3 separate regions of the Homo sapiens genome follow, and regions 2 and 3 are each linked to region 1. Evidence: promoter capture Hi-C in 16 types of primary human blood cells and fetal thymus (Javierre and others, 2016). All regions are on one chromosome and are shown on one strand. Each heading gives the region's core, a stretch centred on a gene start or on the middle of the fragment in contact. The rest is flanking DNA. Distances are from core to core; before and after follow the strand shown. Region 1 has its middle 2.1 kb from the start of IFT81. Region 2 holds the start of TCTN1 (tectonic family member 1). Region 3 holds the start of VPS29 (VPS29 retromer complex component).

The links. Contacts are between HindIII fragments. The CHiCAGO score rates a contact against its expected background, and 5 or more counts as called.
Region 2: the fragment with the promoter of TCTN1 here is called in contact with a fragment that was not itself captured in region 1 in 2 of 17 cell types (fetal thymus and total CD8 T cells); the score reaches 5.8 in fetal thymus.
Region 3: a contact is called between the fragment with the promoter of VPS29 here and a fragment that was not itself captured in region 1, in 1 of 17 cell types (fetal thymus). The highest score is 5.3, in fetal thymus.

The regions. Positions count from the first base shown.
Region 1 is chr12:110,120,201-110,124,296 of GRCh38, forward strand. No RefSeq gene overlaps it. Among named protein-coding and RNA genes, the nearest start is that of IFT81, 2.1 kb to the right of the region's middle. RefSeq lists a silencer at 3,971-4,096. The HindIII fragment of the contact is 3,207 bases long and covers 663-3,869 here.
Region 2 is chr12:110,612,257-110,616,352 of GRCh38, forward strand. It overlaps TCTN1 (tectonic family member 1), which reads left to right and starts at 1,873. Exons shown (of 15, transcript NM_001082538.3): 1 at 1,873-2,146. The coding sequence starts at 1,927. RefSeq lists an enhancer at 2,150-2,199. The HindIII fragment of the contact is 6,908 bases long and covers 1-4,096 here.
Region 3 is chr12:110,500,410-110,504,505 of GRCh38, forward strand. It overlaps VPS29 (VPS29 retromer complex component), which reads right to left and starts at 1,702. Exons shown (of 4, transcript NM_016226.5): 1 at 1,640-1,702. The coding sequence starts at 1,642. It overlaps RAD9B (RAD9 checkpoint clamp component B), which reads left to right and starts at 1,922. Exons shown (of 11, transcript NM_001286535.2): 1 at 1,922-1,974; 2 at 3,397-3,467. The coding sequence starts at 1,929. RefSeq lists an enhancer at 1,531-1,670. The HindIII fragment of the contact is 1,449 bases long and covers 399-1,847 here.

The DNA.
Region 1 (4,096 bases), core at 1,016-3,515:
AGAAGTCAGACACAAAAGATCACATTTTGTGTGATTTCATTTATATGAAATGTCCAGAAAAGGCCAGTCCATAGAGATGGAAAATAAATTAGTGGTTGCCTGGGGCTGTGAAGTGGGGAGATTTTCATTGTGAGGGTGATGGCTGAAGGGTACAGGGTTTCTTTTTGGTGTAATAAAAATGTCCTGGGATTAGATAGTGGTGATGATTGCATAACTTTGTGAATATGCTAAAAGCCATTGAATTGTACACCTTTTTTTTTTTTTTTTTTTTTTTGAGGCGGAGTCTCACTCTGTTTCCCAGGCTTGAGTGCAGTGATGTGATCTCGGCTCACTGCAACCTCTGCCTCCTGGGCTCAAGCGATTCTCCTGTCTCAGCTTCTTGAGTATCTGGGATTACAGATGCCCACCACCATGTCTGGCTAATTTTTTTTTTTTTTTTTTTTTGTATTTTCAGTAGAGACGGGATTTCCGCATATTGGCCAGGGTGGTCTCGAACTCCTGGCCTCAGGTGATCTGCCCGCCTCAGCCTCCCAAAGTGCTGGGATTACAGGCGTGAGCCACCATGCCCAGCCTGAATTGTACACTTTAAATGGGTGAATTGTATGTATGTGAATTATATCTTAATAGAGCTGTTTCAAAAAGAGAGTAAGGAAGGAGTGGGAAGCTTTCAGAAAGGCTGTCACATATGGCTGGAACTTCCCTCCCTCTATTAAAAATGTCAAATATAGTTCAGCCAAAAGGCATTGTTGGGAGCTTACAGAGAAGACTCAACATAGCATCTAAGGAGGAAAAAAAAAGGCTTCACGGGTAGCTCAGCTGGGAGGAGATCAGCAATGCCTCTGTTGTTGTGAAATTGTTGCTGACAATTCCCTCTTAGACTCTTCAACGAATCCACCCAAGGTTTTATGTTAAATGAATCAGGCGGCTGGGCGCGGTGGCTCACACCTGTAATCCCAGCACTTTAGGGAGGCTGAGACAGGAGAATTGCTTGAGCCCAGGAGGCGGAGGCTGCAGTGAGCCGAGATTGCGCCATTGCACTCCAGCCTGGGTGACAAAGTGAGACTCCATCTCCAAACACAAACACACACACACACACACACACACACACACACACACACACACACACACACAGAATCAGGGGGTGGTAGCCAATCTTCCTTTGGCCTCGGGGACCCAATATATGCAGTTCTCTTTTTTACTGTAAGTCGGAACATAAATTTTTCAATATACAGATTCCAGGAAGCATGCTGACTGGCTTCAAGTTCTTCCCCGTGTTCCAGAGCAACCATATTAAGCATAAAATCTATTCAAGTTTGAGTCCAAAGAGTGGATCCTCTTGCTTATTTGAATTTATACAGGATTGCAGTCTCATAACTGAAAGGTATAGTGTTTGTAGACCAGGGGCAACAGAGAGAGGAGGAACTAAAAGCTATTAGATAAACCACTCCTATCTAGGATTTCTATAGCCTATACCCATAAACCCTATAGAAGGTGCAAATCTAACCATCTTTTTTTTTTCTTTTTTCTTTTCTTTACTTTTTCTTTTTTCTTTTCTTTTCTTTTTTTTTTTTTTTTTGAGACAGAGTCTCACTCTGTTGCCCAGGCTGGAGTGCAATGGCGTGATCTTCGCTCACTGCAACCTCTGCCTCCCAAGTTCAAGTGATTCTCCTGCCTCAGCCTCCCACGTAGCTGGGATTACAGGCATGCACCACCGCACCCAGTTAATTTTTGTATTTTTGATAGAGATGAGGTTTCACCTTGTTGGCCAGGCTGGTCTTGAACTCCTGACCTCAAGTGATCGGCCCATCTCAGCCTCCCAAAGTGCTGGGATTACAGGCATGAGCCATTGTGTCTGGCAAACCATCTTATTTTTAAAGTTTTATTCAAAAAATTCTTTTACTTCTTTTTTTTTTCTTTTTTCTTTTCTTTTTTTAAAGATGGGGTCTCACTGTTGCTCAGGCTGGACTTGAACTCCTGGGCTAAGACTGTCCTCCCACCTCAGCCTCCCAAAGTGCTGAGATTACAGGCATGAGCCACCATGTACATGCCTCATTTTTTTAAAAAGAAAAAACATAAATGTCTTCAGTGCCTCCCAATGTTGGGCACTGTTGTAATCACTTTACCTGTATCAACTCCCTTAATCCTCATGTCAACCCTATTGAGGAAGGTTTTATTATAGCCACGTTTTACAGATGAGGAAAGTTTAGCAAGATAAAGAGAGGGTACACAATGGCAGATGCAGAATTCAAACCCAGGTAGCCAGGGATGTCTCCTAACACACCCAACAGGATCAATGAATTATATAATCCCTTCTACAAATCTTGTATTGTTTCTGTCAGTATTATGTAAGTTATTTAATTCTTTGAGGTTTTGAGTGTTGCTTCCCCTAATTGGTTGTGGGGTGGGGCCAGTTTTAGTTTCTCTCCAGGAGCCCTGCAGGGTACCTACGCTTGATATTTCAACAGTCAGAGGGCAGCCAACAAAGGGACTGGTCTTGGAATGTTGTGTTGCCTCTGCCCAAAACACTCTCCCTTTTCCTGTTTGGCTAATTTTTACTGATCCTTTTTAAGAGATGGGGGTCTCCTTCTGTTGCCCAGCCTGGAGTGCAATGGTGCCACCCCTGACCAATTTTTGCTTTTAATTTTTTGTAGAGAAAGGGTCTTGCTCTGTTACCCAGGCTGATCCTGAACTCCTGGGCTCAAAGTTATCTTGTTGCCTTGGTCTCTCAAAGTGCTGAGATTACAGGCGTGAGCCACGGTGCCAGGCCTAATTTTTACTGATCCTTAAACATCACTCCATTTGACAGAAACTTTCCTGATGGTATGGCCCCTTTGGCACCACCCTCCCCAAATAAACTTGAGGCCCTTAATCTGGGCTCCTAATCATTGGCTTCTCTTGTTACAGCATTTATCTCAATTGTATTGGTGTTGCCCCTTTAATAATCTCTGCCGGCACTAGACTGTCAGCTCCATCAGGGCAGGGGCCAGGTAAGTCCTGCCCTTCTGCATTTCCAGCAGCCTGTACAGTACAGGGCATATAGGAAATGCCTAATACGTAATCTGTTATTTTTTGTTGTGGTAAGTCTGATGCTAAAGCTATAGTTGGTTTCTCCTATGCTGTTTGAGCAGGCAACTAAGTTTTCAAGGTATCAATAATTTGATTTTTTTTCCTTCTCTTTCTTTCATTGCCAGCTGATATCACTAAGTATCGTGGTCTCTAGTCTAATAGAGGTTGGTTCAAAATACCATTTGCCAACTAAGGTCTCCCACAAACCAGCTAGTGCAAATTCCAGTAGACTTTTAAACCTCATCAGTGACTGGGCACAAAGATCTCCCTGCGTCCTGCGTGGGATGTGAACTCCATGAAGACCACAAGGAGGATTTAATTTATTTCTGCAGTCACCTAAAGAGAGCCCACTCAGAAGCCAAAGGAACATTAGGACACTTAGTTCTCCCACACCCCCTTTCAGGCTCTCAGCATACTCAAAACGTATTGGGTTTAAAAAAATTTAATTCCCAGTACAGGCAATGTGGCCCAGTAATGTGACACAGAAGCTGAAATCTCTATGATGAATGTGTCTTCTTTTAATCCTGCCAGAGCCTCACTACAATTGTTCCTATGCATAACCTAATTTGGAGATACTTATGTCAAAAACCTAAATTTGAAGCACTGGCCAAATGCTTGCTCATCCCAACCCCCCTACCACCCAGCCCTGCCTCAAAAACAAACAAAAATCATCACCCACGTTTGGCGCATGAATGCATGCATGCATGCATGAATGAATGAATGAATGAAACATCACACGCATTTAACATAGGTTAATCATGCAGAGAGTATTTTGTAAACTGCGAAGTGCAGGACTTTCGGGAAGCTTATTGTAGCGCGTCTAGGTCGGAGTAACAGTCCCAAATGCCCTCGGCTGTCTGCAGTGGCTCAGCACGTGGGCCCGCTTTGCAAGTAAGCCCGGCTCCCGTCCGCCCCGTCCGCCCCGCCCCGTCCCGCCCCGTCCCGTCCGCTCCGCCCCGCCCCGCCCCGTCCGCTCCGCCCCGCGCCCGTCCTCCCCGCCCTGGCCCGGCCCCGCCCCCCAGCTCGTGCG
Region 2 (4,096 bases), core at 623-3,122, 490 kb after region 1:
TTCAATTATATTTTTATACACTGTCTCTGGAATGCCACAGGAAGGTGCTAAAGATATCACTTTGATGATTTAGTTTTGCTAAATACATTTAATAAACTAGATATATATACTGTTTGACATCCTTTTGAATTGGTATATACATTTCTTGAATAAATACTGTGTTATGTTTAAGGTTTTTTTGTTTTGGAGTGCAGTGGCACTATCATGGCTTACTGCAGCCTCAAGCTCTCCAGACTGAGGCGATCCTTCCACCTCAGCCTCCTGAGTAGCTGGGACTACAGGAATGTGCCACCATACCTGGCTAATTTTTGTATTTTTTGTAGAGATGTGGTTTCACCATGTTGCCCAGGCTGGTCTCAACTCCTGGACTCAAGCGATCCTCCCAAAGGGCTGGGAGTACAGGTGTGAGCCACTGTGCCTGGCCACGTCTAAGTACTTCGACATCTACTTCTGAACTGTATGGAGATTAAGTGTCAAAGGTGCAGCCAACATTCTTGGGCTTGGGTACCTCCTAAATAAGCCCATTCAGAATGGAGAGGGTTTCCTAAATCGTAGGGTCTCCAGGTCGTTTTGTAGCATTACAGTGGATTTGCTTTGTTTTCCCCTTTAAGATGTCTAAATTATTTTACTTAATTTTTGTAAAAGATTTTTGTCTTTAAATAGGTTCTTAGGCCTGGCGTGGTGGCTCATGCCTGTAATCCTAGCTCTTTGGGAGGCTGAGGCGGGAGGATCACTTGAGGCCAGGAGTTTGTGACTAGCCTGATCAACATAGTGAGACCCCCTCTCTACAAAAAATAATAAAAGGTATTAAGTGTTCATTTGTCCCCTTTATCACAATACAGCAGACAGAAGTTATCTGGCAACCTTGTGAGATGCAGCTAAAATAAAAAGGTGAAGCCAGTGTTGACAGAGTCTGGGATAGAGAAAATTCAGAGACAGTGATCTCACAGATCCCTGTGCTCCTTCCAAACACCCACGTTAGTGGCGTTGGGACGGCGCTTCCTAAATTTCCGTCCAACTCATCTGCTTGCGTCCGGACATTTGTTAAAAATATTTATTCCTGGCTGGGAGTGGTGGCTCACGCCTGTAATCCCAACTACTCAGGACTCAGGAGGCTGGAGCAGGTGGATCACTTGAACCAGGAGTTCGATACCAGTCCGGGCGACGGAGGGAGACCTCGTCTTTACAAAAAAAAAAAAAAAAAAAAAAAAATACAAAAATTAGCTGGGTATGGTGGCGCGCGCCTGAGTTCCCAGCTACTCAGGAGGCTGAAGTGGGAGGATTGCTTGAGTCCCAGAGGTCGAGGCTGCAGTGAGCCGAGATCGCGCTACTGCACTCCAGCCTGGGCGACAGAGTGAGACCCTGTCTCAAAAAAAATCCCCCAAAAACTGATTCCTGGGTCCTGCCCTAGACTAACTGACTCAGGATCTCCTGAGGTGGTACCTGGAAATCCGTCTTTTTTTTTTTTTTTTTTTTTTTTGGTTGAGACAGAGTGTCACACTGTCGCCCAGGCTGGAGTGCAGTGGCACGCTCACGGCTCTCTGTAGCCTTCACCTCCCGGGTTCAAGCGATTCTTCTGCCTCAGCCTCCCGAGTAGCTGGAACTACAGAAAATCTGCATTTTTTAAGCAAGCGCCGCGGACCGGTTGGAAACCACAGCCGGGATTTACACGCCCCTCGTTTACGCCAGCTTCACACCCGCTCACTAGTGCTCGCCCCTGTGCCTGCCATCGCTGCCTCACCCAGGCGCCGCCCTCCGGCCTCATCCGGGATCCGCCCCCTGCCTCATCCAGGCTTCGCCCCAGTCAGTCTCCGGCAGCTTCTCGCGGCTTCGCAAGCCCCTTCCCGTGATGCCCCGCGCCTGGCTGTCGCGGTTGCCGGGCAACGCGCTGTCCATGTCGCGGGCCTCGCTGGGACTCCCTGGGAGATGAGGCCGCGAGGTCTCCCGCCGCTCCTGGTGGTGCTCCTGGGCTGCTGGGCCTCCGTGAGCGCCCAGACCGATGCCACCCCGGCGGTGACGACAGAGGGCCTCAACTCCACCGAGGCAGCCCTGGCCACCTTCGGAACTTTCCCGTCGACCAGGCCCCCCGGGACTCCCAGGGCTCCAGGGCCCTCCTCCGGCCCCAGGCCTACCCCAGTCACGGACGGTGGGTACCATGTGCCAGCTCCTGGAGTCCACAGTGATCCAACCTCAAGGGGACAGCCCCGGTGAGGACGTAATAATGATAGCTAACTCTTATTGAGCACTTACTGTGTGCAGACACTGCTGAGTGTTCCATAAACGTCCATTCTCTAAACAATAACCCTGAGAAGTAGCTGTTACTATCACTGTCAGGTAAATGAGAAAACCGGGTCTCAGAGTTTAAGTGGAACGGTATCAAACCTTTGAAAATACTTGAAGTGGTCCCAGACAACAGTGATGCAAAGAGCAATAATGAATTCTTGCAGCCCAAGACGAAATTAAGTCGAGACAATGGTGGAAATTAGTGCCTTGGCTGCACTGAACTTTCACTTAAAGAGAGGCCAAAGGTCTATCTTACTAAATGTGACTATGTTAAGACCCTTCTCTGTTGACCTGAATTCTAAAAACCCAGGATTCCTCCTGTGTTGAATTGGAGGTGGAAAGCTATTGAGGGAGGGGTTATGCTCACTTCTTAGGAGTCATATGTAGGGATAATTAACATTTTTTTCAGAAAATGATTAATTCTAGAATTACACATTTAGTGGAAATATTTTATAATCTAATTTGACGTTTGGCTGGCGCCGTGGCTCACGCCTGTAATCCCAGCACTTTGGGAGGTCAACTCGGGTGGATTGCTTGAGGTAGGAGTTCAAGATCAGTCTGGTCAAAATGGCGAAACCCAGTCTCTACTAAAAATAGAAAAAATAGCCGGGCATGGTGTAATCCTAGCTACTCGGGAGGCTGAGGCAGGAGACTCGCTTGAACCCAGGAGGCAGAGGTTGCAGTAATTACCACTGCACTCCAGACTGGGCGACAGAGCAAGACTGTCTCAAAAAAAAAAATTGACATGGATGACTTCACTGAATGACTGTGACCCGCTAAGATTGAGTGCAAAACTTTGTGAATATGCCTTTTCCTGAGATGAGAGTTCATAGCAGCCGATTCTTAAAGTGGTTCATGATCTCAAAAAAAGTTTTTAAAATTTTCCGATTGTGTGAATTGAGAGTAACCCCAATAGATATGCAGTACTTTTAATCTTTTTTTATTCTTTTTTTGTTTTTGAGACAAGGTCTCGCTCTGTTACCCAGGCTGGAGTGCAGTGGCGTGATTATATCTCACTTAAGTCTCAATCTGCTGGGCTCAAGGGATCCTTCTGCCTCAGCCTCCAGAGTAGCTGGAACCACAGGCGTGCTCCCCCAGCTTGCTTTTTTTATTTTTTTATTTTTAGTAGAGATGAGATCTCGCTATGTTGTTCAGGCTGATCTCAAACTCCTGGGCTCAAGTGATCCTCCCACCTTGGCCTTCCAAAGTGCTGGGATTACAGGTGTAAACAACTGTGCCCAGCCTATCCCTTCTTAAGAAGATCTTTTCTCAAATTGATTAAGGCTCAGTATTAGTAAGTAAAAAAGTCATCAGCTGAGATCTTGAACTCTAGGACTTAACTGCGGTTACTGAACCTTTATTTCTCCAAAAGCTCTCCTTTCTGAATTACGAGTAATCTGAAAGAAAAAGTACAGAGAAATATATTTGCTATTTTAATATATAAACAGAGCTCTGTTTTATATTTAAATTGTTGATTTGATGAATTAGTAGGGAAGTTAAATCAGTGATAAACTGGGACAGAAGAAAGCCAAGTATTCAATGCCTGAAACTCTAAAGTTTTTGGACTGGATTGTCTTTTATTCATGTAAGTACTCCATCTGTTAATGCATTTTCTCTCCAAAATAAAGCTATGCTTGAAACATCATTATTATAGCATGTGTTCAAGGCTGTTTTTCCAGTATAGGGGATGAATTTGTGCTTGTCCTCACACTTTATTTTTTTTTTTTTTGGTCACAGGGTCTCACTCTGTCACTCAGGCTGGAGTATAGTGGCATGATCACAGCTCACTGCAGCCTCGACCTCCTAGGCTCAG
Region 3 (4,096 bases), core at 452-2,951, 380 kb after region 1:
ATGGCAAGTAATTATGTCTTCTCCCATGGATAGGTGTCTCGAAATTACTGTAAACGGATTACTTTAAATTGGAGTCTGTTTAGAAGCAAAAATTAAAAGTGAGATTAAAGATTTTAAAGAAGCATGCACCATAAATCTCTGGCTGCCATGTCTGTAAGTCCCCCTCTTGAAAAGGCTGTTTGTCATGCAATAGTAATAATCTTAAAAATGCATAGCTTCTTTGGTTTCCTTGTAAAAATAAAAAAGAATGCAATAAATGCCTGTCAGAGGTAGACGTCCCTTTACAGCCAACCTCCATCAACACAAATATGAAGATAATCACAGCTCCATTTCAAACAATTGATTTTTTTTTTTTTTTTGAGCAGCAGCAAGATTTATTGTGAAGAGCGAAAGAACAAAGCTTACACAGGGTGGAAGGGGACCCGAGTGGGTTGCCCCAAACAATTGACTTTTTAAGAGTCAAAGGCACCTTTGAAAATATGATTACAGGCCGGGCGCGGTGGCTCACGCCTGTAACCCCAGCACTTTGGGAGGCCGAGGCGGGTGGATCATCTGAGGTCGGGAGGTAGAGACCAGCCTGACCAACATGGTGAAACCCCGTCTCTACTAAAAATACAAAAATTTAGACGGGCTTGGTGGCGGGCGCCTGTAATCCCAGCTACTCGGGAGGCTGAGGCAGGAGCTGAGGCTTGAACCCGGGCGGCATTGCAGTGAGCCGAGATCGCGGCATTGCACTCCAGCCTGGGCGACAGAGCGAGACTCCATCTCAAAAAGAAAGAAAGAAAATATGATTACAGCTCTGAGTCCTCTCTAGTAGAGGCCCCCAGTTTTTATGTAGGAAGGTCTGAGGGGCACCAAACTACTGGGGGTGAAGGGGTGATTGCTTGAAGGTGGCTGGGGGAGACTAGGTAAGTCTCCAACACCGGCACTCTCCCCAGAAAAATGTGTATATTCACAAAAATTTCCCAACAGTTTCAATGAGTTCACACATCATTAAGGAATCCTACCCTAAAGAGGCGTAGCAACCCGTGGAAAGAAACAGTTCCAGCAATTGCAAGCGCCAAATCCCGCCCTCTGAGAGCACACCTGCTCATCTCAATGGCAGCTAGATGTTATTTCAGGAGCGAGGAGGGTGGTTTATTCCCTTTCCCTAGATGGCAAAGTTAAACGGGTACGAAATTCTGCTCGCTACTTCCTGTTCTGCATTCGAGAGGCCAGCTTCCACCACTACACCCCAACCAGCGGGAGGTGCTTTTTGCGGGAAACGAGTAGGAACCGTCTGGAAACGGAGGACCGTGCCCCTATCCCCGGAACATTCGAGGTATAGGACCAAAGGCCTTCCCTGGCTCGGGCGTGCGTGTCTCGTGACAGGTCGGGCTGCTAGAGGGGCCTTTTTACCCCTTGGATGGCCTCTGGCCCCTTGGGGCCGGGATACGAGACCTAGGCCAGCCGCACCCAGAGGTGGCCGCTCCCTTCCTTCCCTAGACCTCTTCTGGGCCTTTCCCAGGCCAGCGCCTGGGCCCTGACGCCGAGGCCTCCGGGATTTCCCAATTCCTCGCCCTCGGCCTCCCCACGGCTCCCAACAACGCAGCACCCCACCCGAGAGCCAGGCCTTGGTCGCCGCAACTGCAGCCCTCACCATCCTGTCACCGGGCTCCGCTCAGTCACCACCACCGTCGCCGCCCTCTTCCTCAGGCTCCTCGGCGACCCGCCCACTTAACCGCAACCAATGAGAGCAGAGGGAGACAGAAATTGCCGTACGGAGGCCCGCACGGACCCTTCTCCGCCGTAAAGCCGTTTGGGAACTTGTGGAGGCGGGGTGGTAGAGTGCAGAGACGAGATCGCGAAGCTTTGAAAAGCGCGGGCAACATCCGGGCACCTGGGCCGTCGAGCTGAGGCGCGCCTTCCGAGCCTGCTTTTTAGGGCGGATGGCAGCCATGCTGAAGTGCGTGATGAGCGGCAGTCAGGTGAAAGGTGGAGCGGCCTTTGTTGTCTTCCCATTTAGCAGAGAGAAAAGCAGACGTTAATAGGTCGTCCCTACCATTGTCTAATTTTTCCTCTTTGCCTTTTTGCGCAATGACTGAGGACGCACGCCCTGGCCACAGCCCCACCCACTCAAGTCCCTGTTAACTTCTGAGGGGAGGATGAGGACCCATCTCGTGTGACTTAGAGGCAGATGTAATATGGGTGGTATCCGGGAAATAGAGTTGTACCATCGGGCCACAAACTCGGGATGCTGAGGACTGCATGGGGAAGAGTTGAGAGAAAAAAATAATGCTTGGACAGTAAAAGTATTTTTGTGCCAAGAGAACAGCATTAACCTGGTTTTTTTTTTCCCCAGATTCTACCATTTTTAAAAATGTATGAACTTGGAAAAGTCACTAAATCTCTTTGGGGCTCAGTTTCTAAAACGGAAACAGGGGTAATGACAGCACCTTCGTCACAGAGTTTGTTTGGAGGCAATGAAATGGAAATGCGTGTAAAGAGCCCAGTAATAGATGGAATGTACAAGAACTATTAGTGTTGTAAACGGCGCTTTCAAAATGGAAGTTAGGCCGGGTGCAGTGGCTCACGCCTGTAATCCTAGCACTTTGGGAGGCCAAGGCGGGTGGATCACCTTAGGTCGGGAGTTCGAGACCACCCTGACCAACATGATGAAACCCCGTCTCTACTAAACATACAAAAATTAGCCGGGCTTAGTGGTGGGCGCCTGTAATCCCAAGCTACTTGGAAGGCTGAGGCGAGAGGATCGATTGAGCCCGGGAGGTTGAGGCTGCAGTGAGTTGAGCTCGTGCCACTGCACTCCAGCCTGAGTGTCAGAGTGAGACTCTGTCTCAAAAAAAATAAAAAATAAAAAGAACATTAACAATGTCGTACGGGATCAGACTAGTGTGTTTTCCAGCCCTAAATGTGTTCTGTGGTGGGGAAATCTGGCTGCCCTCAAACATCAGAGATGTATGTTGGATACCCCTAATTTCTCTCTCATGACTTGTTGTGACTTGGCTATCAAGCTATTAAAACCACTTCAGATTATCTTCTCCATGCACTGTTTTCACAGTTTTTGGGGGGTCAAATACATTTATCTAAATCAAGTTGTAAAATACATTAGTATGGAAATTGGTTTGCACAGTAGCTCCATGCAACACTGTAAACATATAGAAGGACAAATTTCGGTCAATTTTATCATTTCACACACTACAAATTTATTGAGCCCTGACTATGTGTCTGGCATTTTGCCAAGGGTATTATACTGTATTAAAGTAATGTAGCATTAGTCTGTAAGATACTGTTATTTTTGAATTTCTCTTGAGTCCTCTGAATGCTGAACTAGTCTTGTGATTTGTTTTTATTGTTAGAGGGAAAGAATATAAGCATCACCTTTCTTTTTCTCCATAGTATTTGGGAAAGCAGTTCAAGCTCTATCACGAATTAGTGACGAGTTCTGGCTAGACCCATCTAAAAAAGGTGTAAGTAAGAAAGTTAACAGATCACGTATCAAGGCAAGAGGAGATGTTTAAAGATCCCAGTCCAGATTGAATGTTAACTAGGAAATCCAGAAATTGTAATTATCCCTTTCACTGTTTATCTTTATTTTACATATCTGAATACACTTAGAGCATGGTAAAGTTGAAAATATGCAGATAAGCTTGATTGATTTAAACTGGAAGTCACAAACTGGTAGTTAAGAGACTAGCTACGGTCTGCAGGAATGTTTGTTGGCCTGCACTGTTTTTTTTTTTTTTTAATTTGAAATAATTTCCAACATTTAAAAATTGAGGCCGGGCGCGATGGCTCACGCCTGTAATCCCAGCACTTTGGGAGGCCGAGGTGGGTGGATCACCTGAGGTCAGGAGTTCGAGACTAGCCTGGTCCACATGGTGAAACTCCTTCTCTACTAAAAATATAAAAATTAGCCTGGCATGGTGGTGGGCACCTGTAATCCCAGCTACTCGGGAGGCTGAGGTGGGAGAATTGCTTGAATCCAGCAGATGGAGGTTGCAGTGAGTGAGCCGACATGGTGCCACTGCACTCCAGCCTGGGCAACAGAGTGAGAGTGAGACTCCGTCCCAAAAAAAAAAAAAAAAAAAATTGAGTC